Regions from separate parts of the Homo sapiens genome. Here region 2 is linked to region 1. The links are contacts of gene promoters, found by promoter capture Hi-C in blood cells and fetal thymus (Javierre and others, 2016). All regions are on one chromosome and are shown on one strand. The core of a region is centred on a gene start or on the middle of the fragment in contact, and the rest is flanking DNA. Distances in the headings are between cores, read along the strand shown. Region 1 holds the start of CAV2 (caveolin 2). Region 2 has its middle 120 kb from the start of CAV2-DT.

Region 1 (4,933 bases), core at 1,128-3,627:
GTACTTCACATTTCCAAATAGCTTCATAGTCAGCATTTCACAATATGCTATGCGGTCACTCAGTTTTTCACAGTTTTGAAAGTGAGAAAACTGACATAGAGGTTAGATGATTAGTTTTAGTTAATTGGGAATCCCAAATCTTATGTGCCAACTCAGGGATCTTAAAAAAAATTCAAGTGCAAATGTCAGAATATAACTATCCATTTGACCTTCATGAAGCTGATCATGTACTAAGGCAACATTTTCATTTCCCTGGCAATCTTGGCACCTTCAACATAGTTTAATTGTTTACAACCTTTAGTGATAAAATTAAATTGGTGTTCTTTGTGTATCCTTTACGTATTTGGTGAATTTTCATTTATCCTTTCAAAGTCTTTTTCGACTCCTTTCACTCTTCAAAGCCTTGTCTGTTCCTCCCTCTTTGTCAGTTGACTGTGTTTTCTCAGCGTCCATCTCTGTACCTAGCCAGCTGCCCTGATAAGGCTGTGAGTAAGCTGAAGGCAGACCCTATCTCTCATTCATCCTGGCCCAGTGCCCAGCACAAACTAAGCACTCAATCAATTTAAAGTTTGTTGAACTAACTAGCTAGCTAACTGACTAAATAAATTAAGATTCAGGTGGTATAGAGAAATAAAGGATAAATTGGTAACTTCTAACAATGAACACCGAGTATTTATCAGGGTGTGGCAATATCATAAAAGGTGTAAGAAAGACACGGAGGTACCTTGGGTTATACCTTTCACCAGGACTAACCTGAAGCACTAGCGTGACAACTGTTGTGATACTGGGGATGATCTGAATATTCTTCCTCTCAGATTAAAGTGGATATTTTCTAACACAACAACATTTATTGGTAAAATATGACATTTTCCATAAAAAATTTAAAAGATGCTTAAGAAAGTTCTCTACAGTTTAGGACACATTTTGAGTATGAATAGAGTTACTCAAAATATCCTATCAATATACAGTGGGCTTCCATATTTCTTTCCCCTTTAATTATATGCCACTTCCATTTGTGTTTCATCAGTGAAAAAGTAATTTGGAGGCCTTCTCATTCATTATCCCGCAGCTGGAGTTTTCATTCGTTTGTACTGGGGGGGACCCTCGCCTTAACTGCACACACCTCCCTTTCCTCTGGGTCCCATCCTTGCCATCTGCCAGGGGCAAAGTTGAAGCAGCCCCTCCACACTACTGCTTAACCAGGTCTGACATCCTCATCCAATTCTACTGTCAGCGGCATTCTGCTCAGAGATCACTTTTGTTTTACCCCAAGCACAGGCAGTGACTGAATAAAAGGCAATGAAAGAAAGAAGAGTCCTGCCCAGAACCGCAGGTACGAGTCACAACAGGGCCCCGAGAGCAGCCTGTGGTAAGAAGTGTGGCTTCCAGGTACCCGCCTCCACACTCAGCCCAGCCTTATGTATGCAAGGAAAATCACACCCCAGGAAAGACCGACATTCTTTCTCCTGTTGAAACTCCAAGCCCAAACTGTTATTCTAAAGGAAGCGCATTGCCTTTCAAGGCCTTCCAGTTCTTCCTACTGCTTGGGAACTGATGCGCGTTCCTCCTCCTGACGCCGGCCTGGGATAAGAGGAGAGTAGGGGGCAGGTGGCGGAGAATATGCCCATGTTTCAGAAAGCCGGTCCACCCGGTGTGCCCCGTCTCACCAGATGTGCAGACAGCTGAGGGTGGCAAAGAGAATTCCCGCAATGAAGGCCAGGGGAATGGCCAGGAACACCGTCAGGAACTTGTACATTACGTATTTGCTGATTTCAAAGAGGGCATGGCTGCAGATCCACACTTTGTCAAAGGAGTGCGTAGTCACCGGCTCTGCGATCACATCCTCGAAGCCCAGCTGAGGAGACAGGACGCAGGGACCCCGAACTGTCAGCCAACCTGACGCCCCGGGAACCGGGAGCGCTTTGGGCGGGGGAAGCAGGAGGGAAGGACGTGCCAGGGCGTCCGCCTCTTCTCTTAGGGTCACGGTGGGCGCACAGGAACCTGGCTAAGAATTCCTGGCTACGCGGGCGGCCTGGTGACGGGTGGGACCGGGGAAGGGTGCGGGTCTCAGACCCTGCGGGGCCGACCCGGTAGCAATGGTGGGACGGGTTAGGGCGGGGCTGAGGGGCGCCCGCACCTCCCGGCCTCAGCGGGGACTTGGGCCCGCCCGCCCCGGGCTTCACCTTGAGATGCGAGTTGAGCCGGTGGGGATCCCGGTCCTGGTCCGAGTCCGCGAACTTCTCGGGGTCGGCGTACTCGAGGCCGCTGTGGTGGCTGTAGGAGTCGTCGTCCATGAAGAGCTGTACGTCCGCCTTCTCCGTCTCCAGCCCCATCGCAGCCTTGGTGCGCGGCCGCTGCAGCCCGGCTGGCGCGGTGCGGCTCCCGGTCCGCGCGGCCTCCCCTTCCCGTAGCGCCCGGCCCCGCCCCCCCTCGCCTCGCCTAGCCCTGCGAGGCCCGGGCGGCGGCCGCTTCCCGCTGTGGGCTCCAGCTCCCAGCCCGGCCGTCCCGAGCCCCGCCCCGGCGCCCCGCCGCCCCTCCCCGCCCACCTCCCCCGCCGGGGCGCAGGGAACCGTCCCCACGAGTCACAGCCCGGGCCCTGCAGTGGGCGGCGACGCCGGCAGCTGGGACGAGGAGGGCCTCCTGGTCACCCTTCTGGGGGCCCGTACTGTCATGCCTCAGAGCTGGCAAGTCGTCCCAGGGAAGACAACGGCCTTCCTGGAGGGAGGGAACCTTGTGGTTAGGCGCATGGGGTGCGAAGCAGGTATGTGCTCACCTCCGGCTGTGTTTGCCTTGCGTGCTGCGGCTCATGGTGCTGGTATTGAGCCTCTGGGAACCTCAGCTGCCTCGTTGGCAAAATGGGGGCTGTGGCATCTGTTTCAGGGGTGTCCGTGAGAATTAAATGTTAATTTCACATAAAATTCTAACACACATGGCCCATGGCCCGTAACACACAGTGATAAACTTCCAATCAACGTTGTTGCTGCTGTCGTGAGAGGTAAGGAGCCACAATGTACCTGAGTGCTAGGTACCTGAGTGCTAGGTGACCTGCAAGTGCATGTGGAGTTGGGTAGGCGAACGCCCTGGCCCTAGAGTTTGTGCCTTCAGATCTGAGGTGTGAGGGGAGATCTGATTTTTTTTTTTTTTTTTTTTTTACTTCCTAAACTACACCGTGTGTGTGTGTGTGTGTGTGTTTGTGTGTGTGTGGCAGAGTTTCGCTCTTGTTGCCCAGGCTGGAGTGCAATGGCACGATCTCGGCTCATCGCAACCTCTGCCTCCCGGGTTCAAGCGATTCTCCTGCCTCAGCCTCCCGAGTAGCTGGGATTACAGGCATGCACCACCACGCCTGGCTAATTTTGTATTTTTAGCAGAGACGGGGTTTCCCCATGTTGGTCAGGCTGGTTTCGAACTCCCAACCTCAGGTGATCCGCCCGCCTCGGCCTCCCAAAGTGCTGGGATTGCAGGCGTGAGCCACCGCGCCCGACCTCCACCTTTTAATTTTCTTGTGAACCAGACTGTCTTGAAAGATTCAGGAACTTCTAAGATGCAGTCACATCTGTGATTATCTTGCAGGCAGCACGGAAACAGAACCCTAACACAAAGCCACATTGCAATGGATGAATTAGCCTGCTGACCACTCACGCAAAGGTTTTCAGAAGGGAGGAGTTTGCATGTTCATAAAGGGCTTTAGGGTCTGGTAGACATATACGTGTGTTTGGGGAGGAAGGGCACTTAGTGAAAATTTGCCAAAAGCAAAACAATGAGAACTAGGCTTGAGGTGCAGGTTGCTCAGAGCTCAAAGTAGGCATGTAGTAGGTATTGCTGGATACAGTGTATTTGGAGCTTGTTGAACATATCAAATCCCCTTATGTGAACTGGATTTGAAGAATTGCTTCTTCCGAAAGAAAAAAGATCATTTTTGAAACAGTAAAAATTACAGAAATAAAAAAGAACAGGAACTGAATGAGAAAAATGTTTGGGGGTGGGAGGCAAAGTTCAATATTTCTAATAATTAAAAAGTTTCCCTGCTGCTACCTCAGTATATGAAGGGCAGTGTTGTAACCCTATAGGGTGTTACAGAGTTGACTCTCATGGCTATGGAGCCCCTCCTCTCCCAGACATCACCCTGCTTACCCATTCCCTTCTTTTTTACGTATCTTTCTCATTTTTATTTATGTTCAGTCAATTCCAAAGTGATGACTTAGACATTCTACTCATTGCATTTTCTCTGCTTCTCCACCTTGTCCATTCTCCTGATGAGAATTGGAACTCTTCTAGAATTGTTGCCCAACAACTGTTCATTAAAGTGAATAGAAGACATGAATCCTTATGGGAATCCATAATATCAACTGTGAGGAACAGAAAAAAAAAGGAGATAATTTACAGCCAAATACCATTTTATAATTATAATTCAAAATTATAATCCCAGATTTCAAGGTCTCACCCAAAGAAGAAAGTCACTGCCCTAGTACAAGAGTGGGCTTATGTAGTGGGTAAAAATCTGACATTAGCACTTCTTACCTTATAATTCTTGGTCCTCATTACATTTACATTTTCCATGGGATTATTAGGACATTTGAGAGTTATCACAAATAATTGATTTGTTTTCAGGAAGTGGCCAAGAGGACTCTTTAGACAACAGCTTCATTCGTAAAATGATAGGTATTTAAGAAAGGTGTCTCTAAATCCCATCTAAATGAGACCCATCTAGATTTGTTGTATGGAGCACAGAACTTGAAAGGAGAGGATTCATTTATTCATCCATTTGTAATTTTTTATTGAACAATCTTCTCTCCCTTGGGTCAGATCTGGTGAGGTTCTTATTTTGATGAAATTCTTATACATTTCAACATTTTAATACATAAGATTTTTTGAAGGAAGCTATAAAAATGATTTTGCTTATCCTATTGGCCAGTATTTAGATAAGGTTAGTGAT
Region 2 (5,484 bases), core at 1,980-4,479, 120 kb after region 1:
TACAACTGCCACTTGGGAGAAATACCCCAAACATATTTTTAACCTTGCAGAATGATCCTAAATCAAAAGTCACATGAGTACAGCCTCTAGAATGCAAGGGTTTACAATTCACCTCTTACATGGGTAATGCCATATAATAGTATAGATTCATTTATTTAATGATGGTCCTATAGGGTCAAATACACATGCTAAAAGTCAGATATACAAAAATAATTGTAATTTCTAATCTTCTGTAATTGAGATAATGTTGCCCTCAAGCTCTGTTCATCTGGTTAGTGGTGGGCTGAGTGTGGAGTGGAGAAAGTGAGACAGGCAAGCTTGTTAATTTGCATTATCTTAGTTTCTTCTAGTTTAAAATAATCTTACTTGGGTTTAACACAGTCTTTTTTTGGTAAATGCTTACTCTTTTATGGTTTACCCATTTATTTTTCACATAGTAGCATCCTATTTCCGGGGACCTATGTCTGTTTATACCATGAAGGTTGGATCCCTGGTCCATGTGCTGTCCCTTGGGATAACAAATCTAGTTTTCAAATTATCAAAATAGGGAAAATAATGCTGGGTAAAATTAATATCTAAGGTCACTTGTTGACAAGCGCTTTGAAAAGTACTAGTACATTATTCTGACACTCTTGAGATTCTACACTGTGGCTGCTTCTTCATTTATAAGGCCCTAAATTATAACAAAAAATCTCCTGGTCTATGTTAATAACATAGGCAGAGACATCAAGATCACTGTATATATTCAGGTTCACATGTCTCATTATTTTAAATACATTATTAAACCTAAATACTTTCACTTGCTAATCACCTTTGGAATAACAAAGAAAATGTTTAAATATTTTGTGACCTATAAGAAAATGTCAAGGCAATGATCATAGCAGCTTTTTGCTGATTTTTGGCATTGCTTAAAGCAATTAAGTGCAAAACACAATAGAAAAGTAGAGTTTTTCAGTCTCTGTTTTTAAATTTGAGTCTATGGATGCCTCTAAAAATGAGACATTCCATTTATAAATTACCCAGTCTTATGGTGAGTGATGGGGAATGGCCTCAACTTACAGCATTCTAGAAGAAAATTTGGAAAATGCTGCCTAATTTCTTCAGTTATCTGCAAAAGCAAATACTTTTCTCGAAGGATCTTTTTCAATGAGAAAACAGTCCCTCTGTGGTAGAATTTCCTCTTTTTACATTTGAAGGTGAAATGTATATCATCCAGATTATCATCAAATGTTTTAACTGTTTAAATATCAATTTAGAAAAAAGTACCTATTTAGAAATATTTTTTCTTACTCTCTAAATTTAAATGATGCGTGTTATAAACTAGAAGAAACTGCAAATGTCCTTTTGGGAAGAAAGGCGTTAAGTTAGCAGGTCTGAGACTTCAATTCTCCAAAAAGCCTACTTGCAAGGCGGCTGATGTCTGAGAATTTGAATTTGGAGGTGTTCTCACCAATTCTCTTAGTGATAAAGTTGGTTTGCTGTGCCTAGACTGAAACACAGCGTGGTGTATGCCAAACACCTGCTTTCCTTCTGGTGGTCTGGAAGTTTGGTACATGGTAAGCAGGGGCTGTCTACATGACAAGCTCCGAATAAAAACCTTGGGTACTGATATGGTTAAGCTTTGTGTCCCCACCTAAAGCTCATCTTCAATTGTAATCCCCATAATCCCCACGTGTCAAAGGAGAGACCAGGTGGACTTCATTGAATCATGGGGGAAGTTTCTCCCATGCTGCTCTTGTGATATCGAGTGAGTTCTCACGAGACCTGTTGATTTTATAAGGGGCTCTTCCCTACTTCGCTGGGCAGTTCTCTGCCTTGCCACCTTGTGAGGAAGACGTCTGCCTCCCCTTGCCTTCCACCGTGATTCTGAGTTTCCTGAGGCCTTCCCAGCCATGTGGAACCGTGAGTTAATTAAACCTCTTTCCTTTGTAAATTACCCAGTCTTGGGTATTTTCTTCATAGCAGTGTGAGAAAGGACTGTTACAGGTACAGAGTCTCTAGTGGGCCTCTGGACAGAAACATCACACAGGTGCTGCGTTTGTTTGCTGTGGAAGAGGATGCTCAGTGTGACCTCTCATGGGAAGGGGTGAGTGTAGGGAGCCTGCACGTGGATTCCTCTGGACTTGCCTGTGCTGGTTCCCTTATGCTGTGCCGTATATCCTCACTACACTGCCCTTAATAAGTCTTAGCTGTGAGTACAACTATACAACTACATGTTGGCTCCCATGGATCATTTTAGGGAATCTCCAAGCAAGGGATGGTCTCAGGGACCCCATTACACCCCTACAATATTTTACAATTTTTTTTTTAATGAAGCTTGACATAAAAATGGAAAAGTACAAATGTGCCATTAGCTGCTGCTTTATAGGATTTTTTTTTTTGCCACAAAGATTAAATTTTGTCTCATTCTGATAATCAAATAGGTCAAACTTTCTTTCTGCAGGGTTACATGGTAGCATTTTATAGTTACAAAAATATGACAGGACATCATAGATACCTAGTTTCAGCATAAATACTGAATAAAGAAAATGAACATGCAAACTTTTAAAAGAAACTGTGTTGTGTGAATGGTACAAATTTTAATCCAAATAAGGTTCATACTGGCCCTTTATAACTATGCAGCTCAGAGGGAGGAAAAATGTAACTGGGCTGGTAAATGTGCAACAGCTGGCAAGCTTCTGTTGCCAGCTCTTATTTTAGATTACTCAGAGTCCCGGCTCTATGAAATGTAGTTCAGAATCTCAAAGAAATGTCAGAGGGGATTTTTGAAACTTCATTTCTTTTTTATTTTCTTGAGCTCATTAAGTTAGTAAATGTGGAAGGAAGTGTGACTGAAAAGAACCTATGGTAGGTAGGATGATAAATAACAATTCGGAAAAGCAGATAGCTGTAACTTGTAGTGAGTTTTAAGTTGATGCCTTCATATTGCCAGTTAAGCTATTGTGAAAACTTGCCATTGACTAATTGAATGCTGACTTATTTAGAAGGAAAACCTGAAAGCCAATTAAATAAATCCAAAATGCTTGTAGTCCCTGGGCTCTCTCAAAGTACCTATTTATAAGGATTCTGGGGCTTCAGATACATTTTAAAAATGTTAGTGACGTTTCAAAATCCTACGGATTTTATTATTATCTCATTGAAGGGAATAAAATGCAGTATAGATTTGGCTGTGATAGAAAATAGAAAAAATAAAAGATAAAAATTCAGTTTGTATAATGTAAAGAGTTGTCCCAGATGCTCTCCTAGGCCTCCTGCCTGGTATCTCTATTCCATTCTGCATTGGTATTATTGCTGCATCCTTTAATGGATTGATGGAATGACAGTGCTCACCTAATATAACGTGATTGAGTGTAAATGAGAAAGTTATTGTCATGTTTAGTTAAAGAATTTATATGTTTTTTGTGTGTGTGTTTTGAAGTGCTATATCTAAGAACTTACTTTATTGCTCTTAGTGCACAAATAATCAATGAAAATGTACCCACTGATTATTATGGGCAGGAGGAGAGGCCTCATGGCTCTTTCATATTGCACCAGAGAAGGTACACTTTTATTCATGGACTGTGAAGTTTCATGTTCAATAAACAGCAATAGAATACTTTTTCTGAATGTAAAAAGTTACATAATATAATTTCTATATGTTCCATTCCACTCATGCTGTTTTTCCCTATTCACTTTTTAGTTCATGTAGCTAATTAAGATTTTCCATAAGTTGAAACCTCTGTTTTTCTACAATTTTTTTCTTCCCTCATCTTTCAGTTAAAGCGTTTATGTAATTCAAGCTTTAATCACATGACTGGTTTCTAGACACTCATGAGAAAATTAGTGTTCATATATAAGTATGTAGTATATGTGTATATATGTGTGTGTATACATACATATGTGTGTGTGTGTGTATATATATATATATATGCACACATTACTTGGAAGATGAAGACCACCAGATACAATCACTCTTCTACTTTCTCCCATTCTCTCATTCTCTTCAGAAGGCTCAGAAGAGGAAGTTGATCTAACCATTTATGATCAATAATTTTCCCACCGATGCAGAAGATTCCACACATTCTCCCCTAATGAGAGATTTCACTTTTGTTTTCATGCTGTGTGGTTAATTTTATGTGTCAATTTGACTGGGCTAAGGAATGCTCAGATAGCTGGTAAAACACTGTTTCTGAGTGTGTCTGCAAGGGTGTTTCGGGACGAGATGAGCATTTGAATTGGTAGACTGAGTGAGGAAAATTGTCCTCCCCAATGTTGGTGAGTATAATCTCATCCTTTTAGGGCCTGAACAGAACAAAAGGCAGAGGAAGGAGAAATTCGCCTGTTATTCTTTTGCCTCACTGCTGTGCTGAAACATGCCATCTCATCTTATCCTGTGCTCAGATTGAGATCTACACCATTGGCTCCTCTGGTTCTCAGGCCTTTGAACTTGGACTGGATTATACCTCTGGCTTTCTTTGTTCTCCAGTTTACAGATGGCAGACTGTGAACTTTTCAGCCTCCATAATTATATGAGAGTAAATCTATATATAAATCATAAATCTCTCTCTCTCCATCTATACTTCCCCTCCCCTCCCCTTCCTTCCCCTCCCCTCCTTCCCTCTTTCCTTCCTTTCTCTGGGTAATCCTGACTAATATACATGCCTTCCCCACATTAAAATTGTTTTCTTCTTCCTGAATACTTCACCTTTAAGCTTTTATCTCCTTAATCTCTACCTAAATCTGATATTATGCTTTTCTCCAGTGGTTGACAGAGGAATTTTGTGGATACCTTTGATTAAAGATCTGTATTGTATTGAAACAATAGTTTTCTCTTGAATGTCAACTTCCTGGCTACTTTGAGAAGCACCATAATGTGGAACTCTTAGCCACTGCTCTTATTCATGAGTGTTTTGTAATTTACCCACTGTCATGCTGAACCCCTGTTGACTCCAGTAGGAATGGCACCATGTCTGAGAGGTCAAATAAAAGACCTAGAAGCAGCGAATGAGACGTAGGGTTTACTGAGGACTTACATACAGGGATAACCTTAATCCCCCTTATTATGGGGGATTAAGGTCCTTTGTTTTGGATTAAATGGAAGTTGCTAGCTGGAGGGTGCTTAGTGGAAATGCTATGTCACCTGCATGTTTTTACAAATGGTAGCAGTTCTCCTGTCCAGCTTGTCACCATTGAGATGCCCCTGTATGTAAGATAGAGGAGTCTAGGGAACCATATGAGGAAGATAGAGGAGTCTAGGTTCTTGGCTTTAGCAATGGGCAGGCTGTTGTATCATTCACTGAGCAGGGAACACAGGAAGAACTGCAGCCTTGGAGAGGAAAGTAATGAGTTGAATGTCGGATATGTAAAAGTTGACTTGCCAATATTACATACAGAGTGAGTTATTCATCAGTGGTTTAATGTATGAGTTTGCAGCCCAAAAGAGAGATCTAGGCTTGAGATAAATATTCAGAAATTGTCAACATAGAGAGGTATGCAAAGCTAAGG

Evidence for each region. Contacts are between HindIII fragments. The CHiCAGO score rates a contact against its expected background, and 5 or more counts as called.
Region 2: a contact is called between a fragment that was not itself captured here and the fragment with the promoter of CAV2 in region 1, in 1 of 17 cell types (endothelial precursors). The highest score is 7.8, in endothelial precursors.

Annotation. Positions count from the first base shown.
Region 1 is chr7:116,497,182-116,502,114 of GRCh38, reverse strand. It overlaps CAV2 (caveolin 2), which reads right to left and starts at 2,377. Exons shown (of 3, transcript NM_001233.5): 1 at 2,184-2,377; 2 at 1,668-1,855. The coding sequence starts at 2,333. CAV2-DT (CAV2 divergent transcript) reads left to right here and starts at 2,599. Exons shown (of 3, transcript NR_188012.1): 1 at 2,599-2,761. RefSeq lists silencers at 326-620, 2,405-2,494 and enhancers at 2,675-2,814, 2,861-3,362. The HindIII fragment of the contact is 7,148 bases long and covers 1-4,933 here.
Region 2 is chr7:116,377,410-116,382,893 of GRCh38, reverse strand. No RefSeq gene overlaps it. Among named protein-coding and RNA genes, the nearest start is that of CAV2-DT, 120 kb to the left of the region's middle. The HindIII fragment of the contact is 1,104 bases long and covers 2,678-3,781 here.